Regions from separate parts of the Homo sapiens genome. Here all the other regions are linked to region 1. Evidence: promoter capture Hi-C in 16 types of primary human blood cells and fetal thymus (Javierre and others, 2016). All regions are on one chromosome and are shown on one strand. The core of a region is centred on a gene start or on the middle of the fragment in contact, and the rest is flanking DNA. Distances in the headings are between cores, read along the strand shown.

The links. The method cuts DNA at HindIII sites, captures the fragments that hold promoters and counts their contacts. A CHiCAGO score of 5 or more calls a contact.
Region 2: a contact is called between a fragment that was not itself captured here and the fragment with the promoter of IZUMO1R in region 1, in 2 of 17 cell types (endothelial precursors and M1 macrophages). The highest score is 6.7, in endothelial precursors.
Region 3: a contact is called between a fragment that was not itself captured here and the fragment with the promoter of IZUMO1R in region 1, in 1 of 17 cell types (erythroblasts). The highest score is 6.5, in erythroblasts.

What each region holds. Positions count from the first base shown.
Region 1 is chr11:94,303,011-94,307,524 of GRCh38, reverse strand. IZUMO1R (IZUMO1 receptor, JUNO) reads right to left here and starts at 2,945. Exons shown (of 5, transcript NM_001199206.4): 1 at 2,646-2,945; 2 at 1,751-1,894; 3 at 803-1,012; 4 at 225-360; 5 at 1-101. The coding sequence starts at 1,888. The HindIII fragment of the contact is 9,583 bases long and covers 1-4,514 here.
Region 2 is chr11:93,920,729-93,925,294 of GRCh38, reverse strand. It overlaps the pseudogene LOC101060084. Among named protein-coding and RNA genes, the nearest start is that of VSTM5, 72 kb to the right of the region's middle. The HindIII fragment of the contact is 2,695 bases long and covers 1,536-4,230 here.
Region 3 is chr11:93,895,477-93,899,528 of GRCh38, reverse strand. It overlaps the pseudogene LOC101060084. Among named protein-coding and RNA genes, the nearest start is that of VSTM5, 47 kb to the right of the region's middle. The HindIII fragment of the contact is 3,803 bases long and covers 221-4,023 here.

The sequences.
Region 1 (4,514 bases), core at 1,696-4,195:
TTTGAAGGAATTGCTCCAAGTCTTCTCACACAGGTCAGCTGGGGTGGGGAAGTAATGGGAGAAAGGGAGGCACTGGGCCCCTTTGGGGCAGCGGTTCTTCCCTGCAGGGGATGGAGGAGGGACAGCTTACCTCCTACTCCCTCATTGCTAGCCTTTGCACCTGCACCCTTGTGGGGACCACCAAGGGGCCTCTTCCCGACCAAGGCCTTGTCAGCACCACTCACCCTGACTCCAGTCCCAGCCACCACGCCAGTTGGATTTGCATGTGTAAGACATGCGACAGTCTTCCCACCACTCCTCACAGTCCTCCTGGCACAGCGGCACATTCACAACTCGCTCTCCCTGCCCACTCGGGGCCACCTGGGTGCAGTCATAGCCAGAGATTAGAACATTAATAGCAGAGATGTGAAGACTACTAATAGCTACAGTGGTATTTGTACCAGGTACCATATGTACATCATCTTCCATAAAGCCTCTAAGTGTTATTTTACAAATAATACCAATGAGGCTAAGAGATTTAATAGTTTGTCCTGGGCTATACAGCTGGTAGGGACAGAACATGAGACTGAAGCTCAGGTCTGTCAACTCCACCAAGCCTCCTGTGGTGATAGCCCCTCATCCCACTGTTGTCAGAACAGTCTCCCCCATGTGATTCTCCAGCAGGGGCCTCTGGCTCTGCTCTTGTCCATAGGGAAATAACACCTCCTGTTCCTACTAGCATCCTGGCGGCATCAGCATAAGATCGGGTGAAAGCTCTGGCTGTTAATATAATAACAGGGCATGGCACAGATCTGCTTCCTACCTCCCACCCCAGGCTTCCCACTGGCTGGATCCAGGGCCCCAGGTTTGGGGAGCACTCATAGAAGCAGATAGCCTGGATGAAGTGCTTCCGACAGCCAGGCATCAGCAGTCCACAGTGAAACAGGCTGAAGTTGTAGAGTGGGGATACATCCAGATGGGCTTCCCAGCTTGTCGTGAGGGTGCAGCAGGCATTGTCCTTCCAGGGGATGCACTGAAGGCAGAGGAAGAAACAAAAGGCCCAGGCAAAAGGGGCAAGGATCGGCAAGTGTCTAGGGAAGAAAGGTGGTGAAATGAAAATGTCCCTTAGGAGGCCTGAGCAAGTGGGATGCCTTTAGCTAGTAAGCCCCTACATAAGAGGAACCCTGATAATCTCTCAATATTTACCCAAAGGGCAGAGGCACCTGCACAATGACCCCCTGCCACAGGCTGCTACAGTCCTCTAGAAACACAACTTCTGGGCTCTCAGCTCCTGAGAGGCAGCAGAAGCCTTTTAGGGCAAAGCAGGTAGAAGAGCCCCAGAGAGACCCAGGGGAATCTGGGGTTGCATTGGGTGGGAGGGTCTCATAGGCCAAATGCCAGCTGTGTTCTTCCTCCCATATCCCTGGAAATTGCCTTTAGGAGCTTGGGGAGGGGTCACATAAGTCATATGTTGCCCCAGGACCTGTTGGCAGGAAGGCTTGTTTTCATCTGTGCCGAGTCAACAATGGATCTCTGGGATCACCAGCGGTCCCTGCTTTCCCAGTGGCTAGAGCAGCTCAGAAATGGGAACTTTGAATCGCTTGGCTCTTATGGTCTCAAAAAGGCATAGTCTCTTTCCATCTAGTTGCCTTTGCTTAACTCCTAACCCCAGGAACCAAATGATCAGGGTTGATGAGGTTCGGAGACCATCTTGGCATTTGTGTCCCTTCCCTGATCTTCCCCATCCCATACCCAGGTCTGGCCTCTGTACCTCCTCATAGAGCTTGTCTTCTGGGCTGGGCACTCTCTTGTGGTGTTTGGCATTCATGCAGATGTTGAGCAGCTCGTCCCCAGCCCAGGTGGGCATGACTGTCCACAGCTCTAGCAGGAGCGGCCACCAGCATGCCATGGCCTGCTACAGAGAGACCCATGCTGCACACTTGATGGAAATGACACCCCACTCCACCCCCTTCATCATAGCAGGCACTGGGAAAGGGGGATGGGCTTCAATCTCCCTCAAATAATTGCAACACTCTGGCTGCTCCTAGGACCTTCTTTTGGAGGCAGCATCACAGAATGTCAGGGCAGGTAGAATAATCCTTGGAGGCCTGACACAGTGCTGGAGGCCTTGCTGGCCCTGCAGAGCCAGGGGCATGCCGAGGCATGAGTCAGATAGGAGGAGCCTTCTACATCCAAAGCCTGATCCCCATCACAGGAATGAGGAGGAGGGCCCTTCCTATTTCCAACTCTGTTCTGGGTAGTAGTGGTAATGAGAGGTAGTGGAAAGAGAGACAAAACAAAGCAAAAGGCAGAGGGGCCCCAGGCCTCAAGCACCCAACCTCTTAGGACACAGGGCCCCTCACCTTCATAGCCCAGGAGCCCATGGCTCCCCCAGTCCCCCAAGTCTGGCAGGAGCCTGACCTGGACCCATCATGGTGAAACTGGAAACTTCTAGCCTACCCTGGTCTAAGAGCCTCAAACATCCTGGGGAAGAAGAGCCCAGCCCCCCTCTTCAGAGCCCAACCTCAAGTCCAAATCTAAGGCTGTTCTCTCTCCAGACAACCAGTTTCAAGCTCAGCCATGGCCTTGAATATTTTTAAAGAATCAGATCTGTTAGGTAAAAGGAGGAAAGATGCTGCCCCTTCCAGCACTCTCTTCATACTCACTTTCAAGGCAGGAGCCTTCAGGTGCTCCTGCTCCCTCCTCCCCCTGAGACTATGAGGCTGAGGGGAGTTCCATGTCCCGCCCATTTATTACCCAGTCTGATTTCTACTAGGTCCAGGTGCAGGAGGAGAACTCCACGTGGCTCTCATTAAACAGCATCTGTCTCACCCAGCTCTGCAGGCCTGTGGGTTCCGAGGAAGTTTGCTTCCTCAGAGAAACAGACCCCATCGTAGGCAAGATCCGGGGCTCTACAATAAGTTACCGGGTTCGGCTGTCAGCTCTGCTACTTACTAGCTGGCTGCCCTGGAGAAAATGACTCAAATTCTCTGTCAGTTTCTCTCTCTGTAAAGGAAGTTTTTATTATGGGATTGGAAAAATAAAGAGAAAGTTCATGAACAAAAACCTTGGCATTGTGCCTGGGATAGAGGAAGTCTTAATGGTTTTAAATTTTATTCTTTTATCCTCTCTCCACACGCCCCTCCTATGTTCTGTTCCGTAGCTCTACCTGCCCCTTCACTGTTAGCCAAGCATCAGCTCAGTCACCTGGTGGCTTTTCTGACAGTGTCCTCGCACAGCCCACAGGAACTATGGTCCCTGCTGGAGCACAGACCGAGGACACAGGATGCAGAGATGAAGTGTGGCCTTGGGGACCCAAGAATTTAAACATACAAACAAAGCCAAAGCAAACAAAACAAAGAAAGTCCCTCCATAACCCGCCAAGCAGCCTCCCTTAGCATACAGGAATCGTTGTCCTGTGAAATATTCTACAAGTGTTCTCAGCAGTGATCATATTTGCAAGACTATCCTTTTCAGCTAAGGAGAGATTGGAAACTTGGATAGGATTCTTGGGAGAGTCCCAAAGATGATAAAAATGCTGGAAAAGGAGCATATTTCTTTGTTTTTATAATATGTCCTCTCTTTCTCTCTCTGAAAGAGAAGTAGCTGAAATCACTGAAGTTTTATTGATACAAAGGAAATGAAAACAAAACACTAAAAGCGTTTTTTTAATGGAATAAAATACATTCTGTGGTGTTCAGCTACAACTGATGTGTAAAGCATATACTAATGTTGGAAAATGACATTCTCCACACCTGGGTAATCACAGCCACTGAATGCTGAGCACAAACAAGGAGCCAGGCACTGGCCTGGTACTGTCTACAGGATCTGAGGTCTCAAAAAGACCTCCAATATGAACACCCTCCTTGTTTTAGCTGTGGGGAACTGAGGCTCAGCGGTGAGTAGCAGAGCTGGGATATAATTTCAGGTATTCTCGACTCCCTATCTAATGCTTAAGGACCAGGTGAGGGAGAAACCTCCGGGACTAAAAGAGTAGATACTGCCTGGGTGCCTGGGTCTCAAGTGAGGTCTGCTTTTTTTTTTTTTTTAACGTTAAATGCCATAATGAGGTTGTGCATGTATTGGGAGGCGTGTGTTGGCTTTATTCTAGAACAGTGACAGTTATTAACCCAGTCTCCCATGTCCCCACGTTAAGCAGAGCCTGGAGTCTCCTCCTTAGGGTCAGATACCAAATGGTAATAGCATCTCTATAGCCTGACAGAGGGAGAAGCAGGCTGTCATGTTCTGTTCAGTTCCTCATGAATATTCAGGAAGCTCCAAGCATTGATAAGGTAAGAGATTTGGGGTTTAAGGTTCAGTTTAAAATGGCTGTGGAGGTGCCAGAGCCGAGAATCCAGACATGAATCACAAGAGTAATTATTGAAATGGAAATAGGTCCTCTGACAACTGTCCTTCATAGGGTGTGAAGAAGGACGAAGGGCGGCTTGCTTGATAACAGTCTCCAGGACAAAGCTGTAGGAAATGAGCTAAAATTGCAGCCAGCGCATATGCAGGTGGAGGGAGGGAGGGAGGGA
Region 2 (4,566 bases), core at 1,634-4,133, 380 kb after region 1:
TCCTACTTTCTTTCGATTAGTGTTAGCATGATCTTTTATGCTATATTTCTTTCATGCCATTTACTTTTAATCTATATGTTTCTTTATATTCAAAGTGGGTTTGGGGTTTTTGCATACAACAGTACAGTTGAGTCTTGCTTTTTGATCCCCTCTGAAAACTTCTGTCATTAATTGACATTTGGACCATTAATGTTCAAAGTGATTATTGATATCACTGAATTAATATCTACCATATTTATACTATTTTCCATGTTGTTGCCCTTGTTTCTTGTTCTTATTTTTTCCTTTCATGCTTTTTCTGCCTTCCGTGGTTTTTGTTTTTATTTTTTTTAACCACAACTTTTTGTCCAAACCTTCAGTAGTTTTAGTTGGGTATTTTATTATTCCATTTTATGTCCTTTCCTAGTATATCAGTTATACTTTTTTTTTAGTGGTGGCCCTAAATTTACAATATACATTTCAACTAATACAAGTCCCACTTTCAAATAACACAATACTACTTCACGGGTAATGTGAATATCTTATAATAACAAAGTAATCCTAATTCCTTCCTCCTGTGCTTAGTATTATTGCTGTCATTCATTTCATTTATACATAAACCTTCATAAGAATCTACTCTCTTTATAGATGAGAGATAGGGGCCGGGCACACTGGCTCATTCCTGTAATCCCAGCACTTTGGGAGGCCAAGGCGGGTAGATCACTTGAAGCCAGGAATTCAAGACCAGCCTGGCCAACATGGTGAAACCTCATTTTTACCAAAAAATACAAAAATTAGCTGGGTGTGGTGGTGCATGCCTGTAATCTCAGCTACTCGGGAGGCTGAGGCACGAGAATCACTTGAGCCTGGAAGGCACAGGTTGTAGCAAGCTGAGATTGCACCACTGCACTCCAGCCTGGGAGACAGAGGGAGACTCTGTCTCAAAAAAAAGAAAGATAAGCAGGTATTTATAATTGAATATATTGTTGATATTATTACTTTGAATGAGCTATTATCTGTTAGAACCGCTAAGAATAAGAAAAATAAAAGATTTTACTTTAAATAGTTTTTTTCTCTGATGTGACTCCTTTCTTTATGTATATCTGAGTTTTTTACCCATATCGTTTTCCTTCCCTCTAATGAACTCCTTTAACATTTCTTATAAGGCAAGTCTACTAGAAACAAATGCCCTCAATTTTTTTGTCTGAAACATTATTTATTTCTCCTTCACTTTTGAAGTATAATTTTACAGAGTCCAGAATTCTAGGTTGGCGGGGAGTTCGTGCTCAAAACTTTAAATATTTCACTTTACTCTCTTCTTGCTTGCTTGGTTTCTGAGAAGTTGTATGTAATTCTAATCTTTGTTCCTTTATAGGTAAGTTTTTTTTTTTGCCTCTGGTTTCTTTCAGGATTCTTTATCTTTGATTTTTTGTAGTTTGAATATGATATGCCTAGGCATTGTTTTGGGGTTTTTGTTGTTGTTGTTGTTTTTTAATTGTTTGAGGTTTTTGTTTTCGTTTTGTTTTGCACTTATTCTGCTCTATGTTCTCTAAGCTTCCTAGATCTGTAGTTTGGTGTCTGGCATTAATTTTGGAATAATTCTCAATCATCATCATTCCAAATATTTCTATTCCTTTCTCTATTTTCCTTCTGGTATTTTTATTACATGTATGTCACACCTTTTGTAATTTTCCCACAGGTATTGGATATACTGGGGATTTTTTTTGTCTTTTTTCTCTTTGATTTTTAGTTTTAGTTTGATTTTCGTTTTAGATCTCTTTGATCTTCAAGCTCAGAGATTCTTTCCTTAGTTGTGTACAGTATACTAATAAGCCTATCAAAAACATTCTTCATTTCTGTTATAATGTTTTTCATCTCTAGCATTTCTCTTTGGTTCTGCTTGAAATTTCCATCTCCTTGCTTACATTGCCCATCTGTTCTTGCATGGTGTCTACTTTATCCATTAGAGCTTTTAGCATATTAACCATAGTTTTTAAATTCTGGTCTGATAATTCTGACATCTCTGCCATATCTGAGTCTGGTTTTGATGCTTGCTCTGTCTCTTCAAACTGTGTTATTTGCCTTGTAACTTTTTCCTGGTAGGCAGACATGATGTTCTGAGTAAAAGGAACTACTGTAAATAGGCCATTAGCAAGGTGGTAGTATCGTGTGGGGGAAAGGGAAGCATGCTATAGTCCTGTGACTAGGTTCAGTCATTTAGTGAGCCTGTGCCTCTGGACTATGAACTTCACACGTCTCTGCATTCCTCTCTCCCCTTTATGTGGAACAGGATGGCTAGAGTGAACTGGAGGTGGGTATTTCCCTTCTCCCACGTGGAAGGCCAGAAGCAGTTAGAGTTGGATGTTTCCCTTCCCCCAGGTCAGTAAGGCGCTGGAAAACAAAACAAAACAAAAAAAATAACAACAACAACAACAAAAACAACAGGTAAATATTTTACCTGATTAAATAGTTTCTCCTGAAGGCAGACCTTGTTAAGAAGAATGGAAGGCTCTGGTATATTTCAAATGATTCTTTTTTTTCCTCTCCCTGCTGGAAGCCAAAGGGGATTTTTCTCCCATATTCACTGAGAGAACCTGATAGAGCTCCAAGAAGCAAAACTCAAAAAAGCATGGGGGACCCTGCTAACTTGGTCCCTGGAGTTTTTATCTATCAGGCTTGTCCACACTAAGCCTCCAGCAATTGGTCAATTATGATTCAAGTTTTCCTACATTGGCAGTGGTTCCACAGAGGTTTCTGCTAGTGGGTTTCTGCTCCTATAAGTTGTGATTCTGTGTATTTGCCTGTCTGTCTCCAGTTTGGGAAGCACAATTTTCCCAGTGACCTCACTTCTCTTGTGGATCTAAGAAGAGTTAATTTTTTTTTAGTTTGCTCAGCTTTTTACTTGTTAGGATGGAGTGTGACTTCTAGGATTCTAACGTGCCAAACCAGAAATCATAAGTCTCCATGCTAGCTATTTTAACAGAGAGAATTTCATATAAAGAATGGTTAGTAGATTTGGAGGAACTGAAACAGCAAAAGGAGAACACTGAAATTTATCACAAAGGTAGCAAGTGCAGGATGTAGTTCCCATCCCTAGGACTGGGGAAACAAAGGGAAGAGGCTGGAATTATTGAAACCTAGACACTTAGAGGAGAAATTTTGTGGGGCCTAGGACCCTTCTGAGGAAGGGCACCTCTGAGAAAGAGGCACTGGCCACTGGAGCTGGTGGCCCAGGTTAGGCAGAGAGCAACATTGCTGTGAGGCTGATTCTGCAATTGTTGGGGAAACCACTAACTGGATTCAGCTGATGCCACTGAAACAAACTGGCCCTGCCAAGGTGAAGAAGCATTGCTGGGGTATCTGAGAGGCACAATAAGCCAATGAGAAGAGTCATGTTTCTTTCTCTTCCTCCAGCCTTCCTCTAGCACCCTCTACTGGCAGAGTCAACGAGTGAGCAGTTGGTAAAGGAGAAAGGTGATTTGCAGCGTCCCAGCCCCAAAGCCCAAGTATAGAAAGCTGAGAACCCAGCATTTTGAGAGGCTGAGGCGGGTGGATCACGAGGTCAGGAAATCGAGACCATCCTGGCTAACACAGTGAAACTCCGTCTCTACTAAAAATACAAAAAAATTAGCCGGGCGTGGTGGCACACGCCTGTAGTCCCAGCTACTCGGGAGGCTGAGGCATGAGAATCGCTTGAACCCAGGAGGCGGAGGTTGCAGTGAGCCGAGATTGCGCCACTGCACTCCAGCCTGGGCAACAGAGCGAGACTGTCTCAAAAAAAAAAAAAAAAGAAAAAAAAAAAAAAGAAAGAAAGCTGGGAACCAAGAGTTTAATCATTGAAGCTGGCAACCAAGAGTTTAATAATTGACACACTCAATTATTTTGAAATTACTAGAGACAATACTGAATTTATAATCTGTAATAAGCAATGCAGCATTTTAAAAAACTCTCTACTGAGCAACCTAGAGCTTCCTTTGTTTATTCTTTATGGCATCCAAATTCTGTATCTATAGGTACCCTTTTTATGCCCAGTAAATAAATCCTCCCCACAATATCCAGTAGGTGTATACTTAATCACATTCCATTACACACCCAATCATTCTGTCATCCAGTCAACCAATGTTCGATTGCTTATTCTATGCCACATGTTATTTTAGGCCCTGAGTTCTTAGCTATGTTACTTGAGAGTGACCTGAAATGGAGTTTCATCTGAGCATGACAATAAAGGAAGAGTATGGTCTTTAGAAAGCTTAATTAAAATGCAGACATTACCTGGCATGTTGGTTAGACCTGTAACTATATCCCAGCACTTTTTATAAATCCCTTCCTCCATATGGCCCCCTACCATTCACATTCATTATCCAACTGATCCCCAAAACAACTCATGTAGAAATAGTGAGATATCAATGTACTTATGTCACTAAGCAAAAAAGGCAAGATTCAGAGAGGTTGTCAGTCGATGCACAGTTTTGTATGTAATCACATACAAGCAAGCACTCAAACCCAAATCTTCCGATTCAAAATCCAAAGCTCTACCCATCACACGAGGCTGACCTTTGTATGAATTAGCTTATCAGAATGGCTAGT
Region 3 (4,052 bases), core at 873-3,372, 410 kb after region 1:
TTTATTTCCAGATATGTTCCATCGATACCTAGTTTATTGAGAGTTTTTAGCATGAAGGGGTGTTGAATTTTATCGAAGGCCTTTTCTGCATCTATTGAGATAATCATGTGGTTTTTCTCATTAGTTCTGTTTGTGTGATGGATTACGATTATTGATTTGTGTATGCTGAACCAGCCTTGCATCCCAGGGATAAAGCCAACTTGATCATGGGGCATAAGCTTTTTGATGTGCTGCTGGATTCAGTTTGCCAATATTTTATTGAGGATTTCCACATTGATGTTCATCAGGGATATTGGCCTGAAATTTTTGTTGTTGTTGTTGTGTCTCTGCCAGATTTTGGTATCAGGATGATGCTGGCCTCATAAAATGAGTTAGGAAGGAGTCTCTCTTTTTCCATTGTTTGGAATGGTTTCAGAAGGAATGGTACCAGCTCTTGTTTGTAACTCTGGTAGAATTTGACTGTGAATCCATCTGATCCTGGGCTTTTTTTTTTTTTTTTTTTTTGGTTGGTAGGCTATTAATTACTGCCTCAATTTCAGAACTTGTTACTGGTCTATTCAGGGATTTGACTTCTTCCTGGTTTAGTTTTGGGAGGGTATATGTGTCCAGGAATTTATCCATGTCTTCTAGATTTTCTAGTTTATTTGCAGAGAGGTGTTTATAGTATTCTCTGATAAAACAGACTTTAAACCAACAAAGATCAAAAAAGACAAAGAAGGGTAATACATAATGATAAAGGGATCAATGCAACAAGAAGAGCTAACTATCCTAAATATATATGCACCCAATACAGGAACACTCATATTCATGAAGCAAGTTCTTAAAGAACCACAAAGAGACTTACACTCCCACACAATAATAGTGGGAGACTTTAACACCCCACTGTCCATATTAGACAGATCAATGAGACAGAAAATTAACAAGGATATTCAGGACTTGAACTCAGCTCTGGACCAAGCGAACTAATAGACATATACATAAGTCTCCACTCCAAATCAACAGAATATACATTCTTCTCAGTACCACATCGCACTTATTCTAAAATCGACCACATAATTGGAAGTAAAACACTCCTCAGTAAATGCAAAAGAACAGAAATCATAACAAACAGTCTCTCAGACCACAGTGCAATCAAATTAGAACTCAGGATTAAGAAACTCACTCAAAATTGCACAACTACATGGAAACTGAACAACCTGCTCCTGAATGACTACTGGGTAAATAATGAAATTAAGGCACAAATAAATAAGTTATTTGAAACCAATGAGAACAAAGGCACAATGTACCAGAATCCCTGGGACACAGCTAAAGCAGTGTGTAGAGGGAAATGTATAGCACTAAATGCCCATCGGAGAAAGCAGGAAAGATCTAAAATCAACACCTTAACATCACAACTAGAAGAACTAGAGAAGCAAGAGCAAACAAATTCAAAAGCTAGCAGAAGACAAGAAATAACTAAGATCAGAGCAGAACTGAAGGAGATAGAGACAAGAAAACCCCTTCAAATAAATCAATGAATGCAGGAGGTGGTTTTTTGTAAAGATTAACAAAATAGACCGCTAGCAAGACTAATAAAGAAAGAATCAAATAGACACAATAAAAAACTATAAAGGGAATATCACCACTGATCCCAGAGAAATACAAACTACCAGCAGCTGCTATTTGAATCTGATGGTAGGGATAGAAGAGGTGAGAGGAGCTCCATGTCCCTTCCCTGAGACACTATTTCCCTTTTGATATAGGCTGAAACCTTGAGTCAGAAGAGTAAGGGGCTAATGGTGGAATTTCAGATATGAGTGAGTGACAGGTGACTGAAGAGCTATGAAACAGATTTTTTTTTTTTTTCACATGAAGTTTCACTCTTGTCACCCAGACTGAAGTGCAGTGGCATGATCTCAGCTCGCTGCAACTTCCACCTCCCGGGCTCAAGCGATTCTCCTGCCTCGGCCTCCCAGGTAGCTGGGATTACAGGCACCTGCCACTACACCCGGCTAATTTTTCTGTTTTAGTAGGGATGGGGTTTCACCATGTTGGCCAGGCTGGTCTCGAACTCCTGACCTCAAATGATCCACCTGCCTGGCCTCCCAAAGTGCTGGGATTACAGGTGTGAGCCACCACGTCCAGCCAGCAGATTCTTATTCTTCCAGCTCAGGACCTTCATCCAGGCCTCACCTTCCCAGTGTCTGCTCAGAAACTCCTCACACCTCAAGTTCCCTCCGTTTTGACCCACTTAGCTTTCATCTTAACCTGATTTTCATATAATAGAACCTAGGACTTAATAACCCTGGGCATGGACCTGTCCCAGAAACCCACCAGGTCCTGCCTCCTCTTGTTCCCAGAATCCTCTCCATGTCCTTCTGTGGGTACTGCATGTCCACAACCCTGACCCACCCAGGTATGCTCTGATCCCCCCACACAGGCCATGGGGGGCGCTGACACACAGACACAGGGACAGCATAACATGAGAAATCAGAACTGCCAGCCTGTTGGTGAGCCCTCCTGCCACTGTGCCCTGCAAAGCTCTTCTTTAGGGATCAAGCAGGGCCCCTTCCCATCAGGTACAGGTGATTTATCAGAGGGATTGCCTCCCCAGGTGTGTTTAGTCTGAATCCTTACTCTGAGCCTGAGATACTATTAACTGGCTTGTGAGGAAGAATGGCTTTTGAGGAAGAAATATCAGTTATAGGAACTAAGAAGCTGTGTTGGCCGGGCGCGGTGGCTCATGCTTGTAATCCCAGCAACTGGGAGGCTGAGACAGGCAGACCATTTGAGGTCAGCAGTTTGAGACCAGCCTGGCCAAAATGGCAAAACCCCATCTCTACTAAAAATCCAAAAAAAAATTTAGTTGGGCATGGTGATGTGTGCCTATAATCCTAGCTACTCAGGAGGCTGAGGCAAGAGAATCCCTTGAACCCTGGAGGCAGAAGTTGCAGTAAGCCGAGATTGCGCCACTGCACTCCAGCCTAGGTGACAGAGCGGGACTCCATCTCAAAAACAACAACAACAACAAAAGCTGCATTATCTCAGTACAACTTAGCACAGCATGAGAACATTGACCCCACTTCATCCAGTAGGTTGGTTATTCAATTAACAGCTGTCTCTCCTAGTAGACCTTGTTAGTTGTACTCACTGTTGTATTCCCAGAACCTATCACATAGCAGTGATTAATAAATGTTTGAAGAATGGGTGAATAAATGAACAAATAAATGGAAGACCAGACAGGGGTAGGATTCATGTTGACTACAATCTAAGATACCTCTTCCAGGATCACGGGGAGGGAAACAGAGGACAAATGGGAGTATGGAGTGGTCCAAAGGTGCACTTAGAAAGCTGAGGGAGACTCCACAAGGCGCTTTCCACTTGAAACGTGAATTGGGGCTCAGAGAGTAGAGAGTCACCTCCTGAAACAGCGGGGTGGGATGAGCAAAGAGGGAGGAGGGAGGATTGAGAAGTGAAGGTTTAAAACAACTACTGCAGGTAATGGGACTAGATGCCAACTGGACTCATGGAGAAATTGCTGAGCAGCAGGGTGGCTCTGAAGTTTTAACTCTAATGCTGGGGCCGGCAGACACCATCAACCAAGAAAGGGAATGGAGGAGGAGGAAACTTAATTCAGGGAAGAGTTTATGGGGGTCAGGCTTCCAGATAGAGCTAGCTGTCTCAGTTCAACCAGAATTTATCAATTCTTGTATGGAGTACAAAGTAAAATAGGAGAGCTCTGCCCTAGAGGAGCTAGAAAATGCTCCTCAAATCTGAGGGAATCATAAATGCCTAAGTAAAACCACAGAGGATCTCATACTATGGCTCAACTGTGAATGAAAAGAATGCCAAAACCAAAGGTTTTTCTCATCTCCCTCCCCCTTCTCCTTCTTGCTCCTGTTTTAAACCAAAACGCACAGATTTCAGCTCCTTGGCAGGTGAACAGCATTCTTTTTCACCAAGTGTGAACTACACTAGGCAGTCTTGGAGCACCCCCTGTTGAGTCTTCAAGGTATTAAATAGTTAGCTCTTGGAAGATAAGCTTCTAGATTGTATACGTAGCAGAAAAATGC